3 separate regions of the Homo sapiens genome follow, and all the other regions are linked to region 1. The links are contacts of gene promoters, found by promoter capture Hi-C in blood cells and fetal thymus (Javierre and others, 2016). All regions are on one chromosome and are shown on one strand. The core of a region is centred on a gene start or on the middle of the fragment in contact, and the rest is flanking DNA. Distances in the headings are between cores, read along the strand shown. Region 1 holds the start of ARHGAP5-AS1 (ARHGAP5 antisense RNA 1 (head to head)). Region 2 overlaps G2E3 (G2/M-phase specific E3 ubiquitin protein ligase). Region 3 overlaps G2E3 (G2/M-phase specific E3 ubiquitin protein ligase).

What was found. The method cuts DNA at HindIII sites, captures the fragments that hold promoters and counts their contacts. A CHiCAGO score of 5 or more calls a contact.
Region 2: a contact is called between a fragment that was not itself captured here and the fragment with the promoter of ARHGAP5-AS1 in region 1, in 2 of 17 cell types (activated CD4 T cells and total B cells). The highest score is 6.0, in activated CD4 T cells.
Region 3: a fragment that was not itself captured here is called in contact with the fragment with the promoter of ARHGAP5-AS1 in region 1 in 2 of 17 cell types (fetal thymus and naive CD8 T cells); the score reaches 11.5 in fetal thymus.

The regions. Positions count from the first base shown.
Region 1 is chr14:32,074,266-32,078,734 of GRCh38, reverse strand. ARHGAP5-AS1 (ARHGAP5 antisense RNA 1 (head to head)) reads left to right here and starts at 2,036. Exons shown (of 1, transcript NR_027263.1): 1 at 2,036-3,316. It overlaps ARHGAP5 (Rho GTPase activating protein 5), which reads right to left and starts at 1,431. Exons shown (of 7, transcript NM_001030055.2): 1 at 1,300-1,431. RefSeq lists silencers at 1,078-1,372, 1,171-1,390, 1,751-2,010. The HindIII fragment of the contact is 3,747 bases long and covers 730-4,469 here.
Region 2 is chr14:30,566,445-30,570,913 of GRCh38, reverse strand. The region is part of intron 1 of G2E3 (G2/M-phase specific E3 ubiquitin protein ligase); the gene reads right to left. The region is part of intron 2 of G2E3-AS1 (G2E3 antisense RNA 1); the gene reads left to right. Among named protein-coding and RNA genes, the nearest start is that of G2E3-AS1, 8.7 kb to the left of the region's middle. The HindIII fragment of the contact is 825 bases long and covers 1,858-2,682 here.
Region 3 is chr14:30,617,069-30,621,537 of GRCh38, reverse strand. G2E3 (G2/M-phase specific E3 ubiquitin protein ligase) reads right to left here. Exons shown (of 15, transcript NM_017769.5): 15 at 1,474-4,469. Among named protein-coding and RNA genes, the nearest start is that of SCFD1, 3.0 kb to the left of the region's middle. The HindIII fragment of the contact is 4,510 bases long and covers 472-4,469 here.

The sequences.
Region 1 (4,469 bases), core at 787-3,286:
GAAATGTAGAGCAAGCTCCCATGAAGTGAACGAGATCCTTCATGCGGATAAACACCACCTAACATTCTAACTGAATACTGGTTCTGGATTTAAGTGGAATTGACAAACTCGCCCCCCGCCCCTACCTGTAGAAAGCAACATAAGCAAGTACTAGTAAATACAGCGAAGCATTTTGCTGTTTTACACCTGAACATTTAAAAAAAAATTCAGTTTCCTGCCTATCACAAAGGAAAAAATAAATGATCGATAAGAATTTAAACTTAAAACGTAAGCACAAACCCATCTATATGCCTATCTTGCTCTATCTCAAAATATTTGAATTCCCATTTATTAAGCGATGGCCAAATCCGAATTTCTATCACATGGTAGAAGTATAAGCGTCTCCCCTACAACTTTTTCGGGATTTTACTAAACGGCCTAATAACAGTTTGCCCTTACTTCCGTGCACCTTTCAACCTCAGCTACACCCCGAGCCTCCAGCTCTCTTGCATTTCTAATAACGCTGAAGAGGGAGGGTGAGAGGGAGTATTTCTGTGTGGATAAGTGCGCGCGCGCTCCCGCGCGGCTCCCCACCCCCACCCCGATACTTTTCTTTAGTGGAAAGAGAGGAAGAATCTGGAGGTTATTCTAGCGAAAACTCAGTATCAAAGCCTCAACCCAGTCGCAGTCAGCCCATAGGACTCTGGGCTCTGGATGCGCAGTGCAACTTCTCATATCTTACTCCAAGCTTCAAAGCAGATGGAAAATTGGTGAAGAGAACCCAGGGAGGAGTCGAGGAGATGAGGGAAAGTGAAAGGGCCGATCCCCCCTACAAGGCGTTTAAGTTTGCAACCGAGACTGTGTTTCCGCGAATCTGCACCCGCCCCGTGTACCCTTTCCAGGTGGAACTCGTTAACAGCAGCAACCCGGCCAACGGACACCGCCACCTCCCCTCTCGACGGACCACCCGAGACTCGAGCAAGTGAGGCGGCGGGCGAGAGCGGACGCCTGGCGGGGCCGGCGATCCCCGGCCAGCATCAGGCCTCCGCCGACCCTGGCCCCGTCACCTGTGGAGAAAGCACCCCCTCCCCCGGCCTCTCTGCCCTTCACGCCGAACGTATCCCTAACGCTGCAGCTGCTGCCCGCCCGGCCTGCGAAAACCGAGCGCAGCGCCAGGCTCCCCTCGGCGGCCGCGGGGCCCCAGCCCCTTCAACTGGTTACAACCGGCAGCGGCGACCGAGCGGGGCAGCTAGCCGCAGGAGGGTCCCCGTCCGGGAGGGGGCAGGCAGGCTTGGAGGAGCGGGGTCCGCAAGGTCCTACCTAACAACGTCGGTCTCCTCCGTCTCCTCCTCAACGGCAGCGGCCCCGGCGGTGGCGGCGGCAGCGACATTCCTGGGGACCGCTCCCGCCGCCGCCGCCTCCTCCTCCACTCTCCGCTCGCCTCTCTTCCTCGGCGCGCTCACCGAGCGGCGCGTCCCTTCAGCCACCTCCCCCCGCCCTCCCCGACACACACGCCCCGAAACCCTGAGCCCCACGGCTCCCGCAGCCAGCTCACCCACCCTCCCTCCCTCCCTCCCCGCCACCAGCGGCGGCCCGTCCCTCCCCCCTTCCCCAGCGCCCGCCGCCGCGCCGGGCTCAGTAATGGCGGCCACTCGGGCTCCCTCGCGCTGACGGATTTCTCTCCCTCTCTCCCGAACTTTACCTCAGCATCTCTCCCGGCGCGCGCAGCCACACACCCGACCGGGGGCGGAGCGGCGGCGCGGCGGCGCAGCCTGGACGGGACGCGCGCGCGCGCGCGAACCCGCGCTGCCCTCCCCACAATCCCCCGTCCCCGCCCCTTCACCTCGCGACGCCTCCCGCGCCGCGCACCCGGCACGGCCCCGCCCCTGCCCTCGTCTCCCGGGAGCCTGGGAAGGCGCGAGCTATCCAGTCGGAGGGAGGGGGACGAGCGCGCGGGGCCGCGTCCTCGCTCGCGTCCCCGCTCCCTCCTCCCCTCTGCTTCTCCCTCCCCTCCACTCCCCCATTGGCTTCTACCCCTCCCCCTTCTTCCTCCGCCTCTCCCACCATTGGTTCCCTCCCCTACTCCATTCCTTCTCACCTTTTCCCTTTTACCCATTGGCGTGAGTATTTTTCCTCAGCTTCCCTCTTTCTCCGTATTCTGCTCCTCCTCAGTCCCATCCTCCACGCTTTGGAAGCTACTGCCTTACTGCCCGGAGCGCCGTCGTCCCCGAACCTCCCCTGCTTCTCCCTTTCCTTCTGTTCCGGTTTCTGGTCGTAACTCAAGAGCAAACCACCGTACTGCAAAGGAACCAGATATTGTGCTCGCGGTTCCAAACCGGGCATGGGCACCGAATGCTTCTCGATAAATCCCCTTATGGTCTCTGAGCATTAAAGAAAGCAAGGGAGGAAAACATGCGCCCAAGCTCGTTCGCAGGAACATGTTCGCGTGTCTGCGCCTGTGTGCGCAGCCAGTTTTCTGGCTGAGGATCGCTCGCCAACTACAGACATCACCCGCCCAGGACCCGGTGCCACACTCACCCAGAAGACGAAACTCCACAGGAGCGAGAAGAGGAGTCCATTTCTCCGTCGGCTCGGCACGGCACGGGGATGCAGGCCCCTGATTCAGTACGTTCTGTGAAAGTGGAGCGAGAAGCCAAGACGTGGATCGAGAAGCCCCGTGGGGCGGGTCTCAGGGTGGCCCAAAAGACCCCTGTTCACGCCACTACCAGCCTAACTTTAGGAACTGTCGTCCACCTGGCTTTTATTATACTGCCTTAAACATATTCACTTTTTTGAGACTCTAGAAATTTCACAAGTTTTGGGGTAGAGCACACTGGGCTTTGGGTGTGTTTCTCATGAGGGCACTGACGCTGAATGGTGCAGTGAGAAAGGACGGTAGAAACCACTGCCTTTGCTTTTACCATTGAAGAAACTGAGGTCCTGTGACTTTCCCGAGGTCATCGGAATCTGCCTTGCACAGGAGACTTAAAATAGTTGCCAGCAGATAAAAGAATGAGCAAAACCACATCTACTCCAATTTGTTAAGTCTGAAAGAAAGTAATTGAGGGGGGATTCCTCTTTGGGGAAATATTTATTTCCTGCATTGAAAATAGTTTAATGTTAGTAAACATATAAAAAGTATTTTAAATTCAAGTTATTCTTTATTTCTTATGTTACATAAGGTACTGAAGTTAGCCAAGGTTGCTTTTGTGTTATAATGATGCAGCTGCTGCCAACCAGAAGTACATTTACGGTCTGTCAGTAAAGAAAACAAAAACTGCCTGTTGGTAAAAATCTATTAGAAAATATTTGTCAGTAAATTTGTCACAATATTCCAGCAGAAGTTCTGTTCGTTTTTCCGTCTTCCTGCCCTTCATATTTCTCAAAGGTAGACTTAATAAAGGTAGAAGAGACATTTCTAATTTTTCTATATATCTCTTGCTCCCTAATTTCTAAAAGGCATAACTAAAATGCTTTATTCGAGCCACTCCCTTGCATCTGAACCCTACCTACCAAGTAGGTTAAGAGTAGGTTAGGTAAGGTCTGTAGCTACTTCTTTCTTTCAGTTACAAATTGTAGGTGGGAAAGAAGGATGCGGAAGGAAACTTGCAAGGAAAGCAAACAGAAAGAAAAAGAAGTAAAAAAGGAGAGAAGGGAATTTGGTGGGTGGTCCAACCATCAAAATGTGGTACTAATGCCATAGGTATCTACACCACTTATGTAAGTTGGAATGTTGATGCATTCCAACGCATGTTTTTATCTTTGTACTGAAAGCCCTTAAGAATACCCGAAGTAAACATATAAAAAGTATTTTAAGTTCAAGTTATTCTTTATTTCTTATGTTACGTAAGGTACTGAAGTTAGCCAAGGTTGCTTTTTAGTGTTATAATGATGCAGTTCAAAGTCATAACCTGAATAAGATGTTAAGTACTATAGAGTGTACACCCTAAAGATACCTTAAAAATTATGTCCTAAATAATCAGAAATTTTAATAATCATGGACATGTATCAACATAAACCAAAGCCAAATAAATCAGGGCTTCTAAAGAAAACGTTAAAAAGGTGTAATGTTCAGTTATAGGACATGATACTGGAGGCAGGGAAGACTTGAAATCTCATTTATTTTCTTATAATGAAGACACCAGAAGACGTTAAAAAAAAAAAAAAGATCACGATTTCCAAACAATGATTTTCATAGTCGACATTATTTTCAGTTCTTTATCTTGATTTAGGGAGCCTGGAAATTTAGGACTTCGTTTCTTATTAATACTAATAGTCTAAAGGTGTTTACCAGTACAAATAAGTTATTGTATGTAATTTGCTCTTCTCAAAAAATAGAGTTTTCTGTATCAATAAAAATCTGAAATGGGGGCCACAATTCTGTGGCTAATAATGCCTATATATCCATAAATAAAAGGCATCAAAGAGCAGGAGGAAAAATATGTAAGATGGCATCTTTAAAAATTGATCAGGAGCCAAGACTTCAGAGA
Region 2 (4,469 bases), core at 1,021-3,520, 1.5 Mb after region 1:
GAAAGTATTTGCAAATCATAATCTGATAAAGGACTTAGTTAGATCCACAATATATTTTCTGAAAAAACTCTTCAAACTTAGTAATACAGAACACATCCACGAAAATGGTGGAGCAAGGGGCTCTGCAGGCCTGTACCTCCCTAGAAACACAGAAAAACCTGGCAAAAAACTCACAATCAACAATGTCTCAACAAATAGAGAATATCAATAAAGAAGTAGAAATGATAAAAAGGAAATAGAAATTCTGCAGCTGAAAAGTACAATAACTGAAATAATAAATTCATTACAGAGGTTTAACAGCACGTTTGAGCAGGCAGGAGAAAGAATCAGCGAACTTGAAGACAGGTTAGTTGAAATTATCCAGTCTGAAGAGCAGAAAGAAAAAAAATGAAAAATAAACAGAGCCCAAGAGACTATGAGACACCATCAAGTATACCAATATATGCTTAATAGGAGTCCAAGAGGGACCGGAGAAAGTGGAACAGAAAGAATGTTTGAAGAAATAATAGCCAAAAACTTCCCAAATTTCATGGAAGACTGAAATCTATACAGGTAAGACTTCAATCTACACATTTTTAAGAAGCTCAAGATCTTTAATCAGGACAAATTCTAGGAGATCCACATTGAGACACAGTATAGTCAAACTGACAAAAACAAAGACAAAGAATCTTGAAAGCAGCAAGAGAGAAGTGATTAACACATACAAAATATCCCCAATAAGATTAAGAGCCAAATTCTCATTTGAAACCATAGAGTTCCAGAAGGCAGTGAGATGACATATTTAAAGTGCTGAAAGACAGGAAAAAAACCCAAACCTGTAAGCAAAGAATCCTATCTGCAGCAAAACTATGTTTCAAAAGTGAAGATGAGTACACATACTCACATGGGAGGCAGGCAAGTAAACAAATATTTCACACACATGCAGTGTAGCCTTACAGAGGTGGTGATATTATAACGTAATTGTGAAAAATAAATATTCTGAGCAGACAAGGCAGAAAAAGCATTCTAAGTAGAGTGTGTGCAAAGGTACAACAGTGTGTGAAAGCCTGGGATGTTTGGGGAATGTCAGGAATTTCTTCTGGAAGTTGCTCTTGCTGATTCTGCCATTTGGTTGGATTATATAAATCTCCTTGGATTGGATTATCAGATAGTAAGTAATATAATCCCCCCCCTTCACCAGCTGGTCCTAACCCTGACTTCGTGGGCAGGTCTTATTCCAGTCCTAGCCCCTTCCACTGACCAAGTCAGGCTCTAAATAACCAGCCCAATCCAAAGTACCCTTCTTAAAGCAGGTGGCATCTTTTTTACTACAGTTCAGGCAATAAAGGCTATTCTGTCACAACTCCCACAGAACCAGGTCTTCTCCTGTCTAAAAAATAAGGCCTTAATTATATTTTAACAGGACAATGTATCTGCTACCTTATGTGACAGAGCAATTAAACTTTTAAGATTCCAGGCAGGACCCAGGCAGAGGAACATGGCAGAAAGAACATTACACTTGAATTATACATTTTCTGTGTTTGAACTCCTTGCTCTGCCTTGTGTCCAATGGAGATGATAATACCTACCTATTAGGGTTCTTATATGCAAAGCAGGAGAAGTAATTCGATGGAGAGAAGGAAGGGTGAAAGGAATTCAGAAAGATCAGAAGTTTCTGAGATCAAGAAAGACCATAAAGTTTTTAGGTCCCTAACTGTTAATGGTGGTTATCCCTGGGGAGAGAGAAGGGGTAGGGGCTTTTTCTTTTAATTTCTTATAAATTTTGGCATTGTTTGACTTTTTACAATGAACATAATTATGTACTTAAAATATATTTGGCATATATATTATACCTCAATAAAAAGTTTCTTAAAAGCTTATATTCTCTGGAAAATCATCCAGGAGACAGACAAGAATGGCTGTTTCTCAGAAGGTCTGGTAGACCTGGGGTCTAGGGTGAAAGGGAAACTTTTAGTAGATCTGTCCTACTAGAGATGCTAATGGGACACCAGACAGTAAGTCAAAGCCATACGAGGAAATAAAAACACCAGTAAAGGTAATTACAGAAGTAAATATAAAAGCCAGTAGTATTATTGCACTTTTGGTAATTCTCTTTTTCCTTTATGATTTAAAAGAAAAACACGTAAAATAAATATAAATCAATGTTATTGGGCACATTATGTATAAATGTAAAATAAGCAAAAAATATAAAATGTAATTTGACACAATAACATTTAGGAAGAAGGATGAGATATACAGAAGTGTAATTTTTGTATACTATGAAAGCTGAGTGGGTATTAATTCAAACTAGGTTGTTATAAGTTTAAGATATTAATTGTAATCCCCAAGATAGCCACTAAGAATATAACTAAAAAATATGTGCAGAAAAGGTAATGAGAAGGGAATCAAAATGGTACACTATACAAATCAATTAAACAAAAGGCAATAAGGAAGGAAATGAGGAACAGAAAGATAGTATTTAGAAAACAAATACTAAAATGTCAGAAATCCTTCCTTAACAGTAATTAAATGTAAATGAATTACACGCTCCAATTAAAAGGCAAAGGTTGACAGAATGAATTTTTTTAAAATCCATACATACACTATCTACTAGGGTCAAGCTATAGATATCAAAACACAAATAGATGGAAAGTAAAATGACAGAATAAGATACTTCATACAAACAGTAATCAAAAGTAAGCTTGGGTGTTTATACTAATGTCAGACAAAACAGGCTTTAAGTTGAAGATTGTTACAGGACTCAAAGGACATTAAAGACTGACTAAAAAGTTCAATCCATCAAGAAGACATGACAATTATAAACACAAACCCACCTAATAAGAGCCCCAAAATATACAAGGCAAAATTTGACAGAAATGAAAGGAGAAATAGTTTAGACTTAACATATACAGAACACTCCACCCTACAACAGAATGAAACATTCTTCTCAAATGCACGTGGAACAATATCCATGGATATACCATGTTAGACCACAAAATAATACATTTTACAAGACTGAAATCACACAAAATATCCTCTCCAATGACTATGGAATGAAACTAGAAATCAATAAAAGGAAAACTGGAAAACTGAGAAACATATGGAGATTAAATAACAACTTTAAATAGACAAAAAGTCAAAAAAGAAATCACAAGGGAAATTAGAAAATACTTAGAGACAAATAAAATCAAGCCCCCAAAACAATGACCCAACTATATGCCCAAAGAAACTAGAAAAAGACCAAACTAAACCCAAAGCTAGCAGAAGGAAGGAAATAATTTAGAGTCCAGATAATGTAATAAAAAAATTTTTAAATTGAGAATCAATAAAATAAAAATTGCTTGAGAAGATCGACAAAATTGAAAACGTTTAGTTAGATGACCCAGAGAAAAAAAAGAGAAGACTCAAATTACTAAATCAGAAGAAATGAAAGTGGGACACTGCTACAGACCTAATACAAATAAAAAGAATTAAATGAGACTATTATGAACAATTGTACTCTAAGAAGTTAAAAGTTAACAAATTAAACAATAGGTTAAACAAATAACAAAAGTGACAAGAAGAAATAGAAAATTTCAACAAATCTACAAACAAGAGATTGAATCACTAATGAAGAACCTCCCAACGAATAAAGTCCTAGCCCAGATGGGTTCACTGGTGAACCCTATTAAACCTTTGAAGAAAAATTGGCACCAATCTTTCTCAAACCCCTCCAAAAGATATTATGACACTTCCTAACTCATTTTATGAAGCCACCAATACCCCGATACCAAAGCCAGAAAAAGACATCACAGAAAATAAAACTACAAGCCAATTATCTCTTATGAACATAGATGCAAATATCCTTAACAAACTACCAGCAAACTGATTCTGATAAAGAAAATTTTGTACCATAACCAAGTGGGATTTATCCCAGAAATGCAAAGGTGGTTCAGCATATGGAAATCAACCAATATAATATACCATACTAATAGAGAAAAAGGAAAAGGTCACATGCTCATCTCAATAGATGCAGAAAAAGCATTTGACAAAATACAACTCATTGATGATAAAAACACTCAAACATTTAGGAATATAAGGGAACTTCCTCAGCATCTATGGAAAAACCTGTAATTAACATAATTATCAGTGAAAGACTGCACACTTTCCACCTAAGATCTGGAACAAAACAAAGATACACACTTCCACCACTTGTAGTCAACACTGAACCAGAAGGTCTATTCAGAATAATAAAGCAAGAAAGCAAGAAGTAACTCTATTCAAAGAAGGCATGATCTTATATGTAGAATTTCCTACAGAATTCACAAAAAACTGTTAGAGCTACTAAACGAATTCAGCTAAGTTACAGGATGCAAGATCAACACACAAATATCAGTTGTATTTCTATATAACAATGAACAATCCAAAAAGGAAATTAAGTAAACAATTCCATTTACAATAGCATAAAAATTACTTAGTAATAAATTTAACCATGGTGGTGCAAGATTTTT
Region 3 (4,469 bases), core at 1,477-3,976, 1.5 Mb after region 1:
ACACCATCAGGCCAGGCTGATGTGCTGGTTTTTGTTGTTGTTTTGTTTTTGAGATAGTATCTCACTGTCTGTCGCTCAGGCTGGAGTGCAGTGGCAGAATCTCGGCTCACTGTAGTCTCGACCTCCCGGACTCAAGCGATCCTCCCAAACTATCCTTCCACCTCAGACTGCCCACTAGTTGGGACTATAGGCAGGGGTCACCACGCCCGGCTAAATTTTTTTTTTTTTTTTTTGTAGAGACGGGGATTCACCATGTTGGCCAGGCTGGTCTTGTGCTGGCGGTTTAATGTACACTTGAAGCCACGTGACCGCAAAATATATGGGATAGATGATTTCTAACTTAATCCATAGATTTTACTGTATGACCAAAATGGATACACAATGACACCTCATTTCCCGAGTTCATTGATGACGCTTCATTATGAAGTTGCACCAAATTCTGAAATGAAATCACTCTGTACCTCAAAAGCTTAACTTTCACAATTATATAAATGAAATGGTTAGCCTAACGATTATATATTGTTTTATAGTGTGAAACACTGGCTTTTTTCATTAATAAAAATTTATTTTTGTGACATTTAAAACAGGTTATCTTATTACATAATCTCTGCCGGGTGCGGTGGCTCACGCCTGTAATCCCAGCACTTTGGGAGGTAGAGGTGGGCAGATCACCTGACGTCAGTAGTTCGAGACCAGCCTGGCCAACATGGTGAAACCCGGTCTCTACTAAAAATACAAAATTAGCCGGGTGTGGTGGTGGGCGCCTTTAATCCCAGCTACTGGGGAGGCTGAGGCAGGAAGAACTGCTTGAACCTGGGAGGCGGAGGATGCAGTGAGCAGAGATCGCGCCACTGCACTCCAGCCTGGGTGACTGAGTGAGATTCTGTCTCAAAAAAGAAAAAAAAATTATGTAATCTCATTTTTATAGCTAATTGGCACATTCATTAAGAAATTAACTGGAATACATGTGTGTCTTCAGTACTATTACTAATATTTTGAAGGAATCTTCAATGATCTAGGTGTGTTCCAACTAAACAAATTATTTCTGCCCTATGGGAAAGTTCTACTGCATTCTACAGTCTCTATGAAATATAAAATGTCTGAGAGCCCAATTTTGCTCATTTGGGTACTTCCACTTTCAAATGCAAATCCATCATTGAGCCACTTCAGTTCCATCACAGATTCTCTCCCAAGACTATGAGTCATGTTAAAACCACGAAGACAATTTTAAAATTGATGTACACTGCATATATATGAAATGATAAAAACTCCTGACCAAGTGCACAGAATGTGGGCAATAAATTTATAGAAAAATACACCTCACAGAAGAACAGCAACCATAGACAAATAGCCCTTGTAAGGCTGAGACTGAATAAGGTATTTGTTTTATTAGAATCAGAAAGACTGAAAATAATCTATGGCTACAGATTGTTCATTAACCTAATTTACTATAGCCATTTATCTGAGTCCAGATTTTTGGCTTAAATAATTTATTCTGGTAAGCTATTTTACATTAGAGGATACATAGTTTTAACACAGATTCCCTCATTTCTATAGGTTCCTGGGTGTCAGACACTAACTGCTTGCTTATAGGATCTCTCAAATGTGGAGAGTAAAGGAATCTTGTATCTTTCAGTTTCGTCAGAATCTTAATCTTATTAAATCCCAAAAAATTACTTAGTTTAAATAGGCAGTTTACCTTTAGTGGCATAAACACATTTATTTATTTATAAAACATTGTTATAAATGTCACGCTTTTTGGTTAATCTGGCAGTCTTTAAAAGGGGGGGAAATAGGCTGACATATAAACGATCACCTAGCATAATACCTGGCATAGTGTAGGTACTGGGATATGTTTATGAATTAGAAGAGATAATGGTCAAAATCAGAACTTGAAAACTGAGTCTCTTCAAGACAATCCAAATTTTCCTAAACCACAGATAATATACATTCAAGTAATTCATCATTAAATGGGTTATGTTTTGTATTGCATTACTTGAAGCATGAAACTTTGTATTGCATTACTTGAACCATAAAAACTAGTTTAATAGCTTATTTTAAAGTAACAATGCAGTACATGATAATCACTATATAAAAGAATTACATGTTTATAATGTAATGATTTTGTTCTGATCATTTTCTTATAATGACTGAATGCTAAAGGCACAGTCACTGAAAAAACTTACCTAATATACTCCCCTTGACTTAGTATTTAGCACTGAATACAAAAGTTCCAATAGCTTCCATATAATTAGGGGAAAAATTTACAAATGCATAAAATAGAAACCAAGGTGAATTCTCATGCTGGTAATCAATCAAAGGCTTTTTACTTAACCCAAACAAAAAAAGTCACTTCCTCAAATTACAGAAACTAAAAATTACAAAGTATAAAATTGTAAGTTTCTGGTGAGATATTTTAAAGAATATCTTGAATAGTAGAGAATTGTATAAAAGGTGTTAAAGTTTCCATATTGGAAAGTGTTTAAAAACAATGAATATCAAACTAACCAAAACCATTAACAGTAGATGCATTATAGATCAATTTATAGTTTTCCTCAACATTAAGAGCAAGAGAAAACAGCCTTAAAATATACAACATTTAGGCAATTGCAATATTTAAGAAATATATGTACACATTTATAAAGATTTATAGCATAATTCTTTTTTAAAATCTAATGTAAGAATTATGCACTGGTTATAAAATTAATAAGAAAAGAACAATTATAATACCAACCATTTGACAAAATGACACTGCAGAAAATAAATAACCTACAGGTTTCTCTGATATTCCTTGACCATACAGATTAATCTAAAAATGGTAATAATGGAACATCCTTCAAACTAGAAAACATTTTGCAAAATAAATATTTATGCTTCACTTTAAAACATGAATATCCTAAATTATTTACACCATCTTATCACTAAGGCCCTGTCTATATATAAAATAAGTCAAATGAGGAATTGAAATACTGTTTTTAATTGTAGCTAACCCAAGTACACTGCCTCTCCACCTGCCACCCCCACCCCAACAAAGTATGTGTGTGTGACTTAATCAGCTTTAATTTCTACCCTAGGGGAAATTAATTGCAACTAAAAACCAGAAAATAGCTTTAACTAGGTTTTATTGGTTTGTATTGGTTTTTAGCTGTAATAAAAATAAGGTGGATAAAGAAACAAATATCTTTTTATCAACATATTTGGAATAAAAACTGTATGGTGACTTTGGGGTTTATATTAGCTATTCAAACTCTTTGATAATTGATCTTTCAATTACTATTGGTGAGACAAAAAAATTCAACCAAAGCCAAAGAAATGTCTTGTTTAATGTTCTTAAATATTTCAAGTTAAAGTAAAACAAATTTGCTAGGTATGTTAGTGTACAGATTGAAAAAGACATGAGGGAACAAAGAAAAGTACACTAGAATTATGTTTTAGTTTTCCTTTGGTATTAAGAGATATATTATCTCTTTCAAATCTATTCTGTTACTTAAAAAATATCAATAATGTAATGATTTTTCTTAAGAAGGGTGAGAATACAACAGCTGACACCTGCTTTGTGTATTAAGAAAAATATGGTTAAAACATTTTACTTCCCATAATGATTTACTTTCATGGAAAACTGAACCATTATATCATTTAAATATGTTAATAGATTAAGGACATCAGACTTTGTTTTCCAATTTTTTCTTCTGTGGGAGTATAAATATGGGGACATGACTATGGGACTATATATTTTCACATTGTTAGCACTTTGTTAGTACAGTTACTTTTAGGTATTGTCTTTTAGTAGCATTATTAAAGTTAAAAAATAAAGGAAACAGAAGTAAAGAGTTTATAGAAGGATACACAGAAATACGGTACTTATCTCTGAGTGGTGACATTAGAATGGGTTTTTCATTCTATCCTTTTTACTTTATTTATACATTGCTTATATAACAGATATCATTCAAGAGCAATGAAGATAACTGTATAATGCTATGGCGTCAACTTACCTTAGCATACAACCAACTTGATAATAAATAATGGTCAAATGGCCAAACCTACCAATCCACAGAGATCATTCAAATATCTAAAATGATTATGGATCAGACATACAGAATACCAAACATAGGATACAAACAACAACAACAACAACAACAATTTCCCATGATTAAAGCCAAGGCTTTAAAGAAGACACACTTTCTTAGGTATTTTCAACTAAATGTTATCCACCTCAAAAGTGTTTAAGCTCATGGAATGTCCATAGATTCCAGAAAATTTGTGCAATTCTGTTTTTTTTTTTGAGATGGAGTCTTTGCTACATTGCCAGGCTGGCTGAGTATCTCGATTCTCCCACCTCAGCCTCCCTTATAACTGAGATTACAAGCACATGTGCCCAGCTTAATTCTGCTTTTTATATAATACTTCCCACTAGGCATAATCTAATTGCAGTGTGGGTCATCTTAATATAAATCAGTAATCTAAAAACA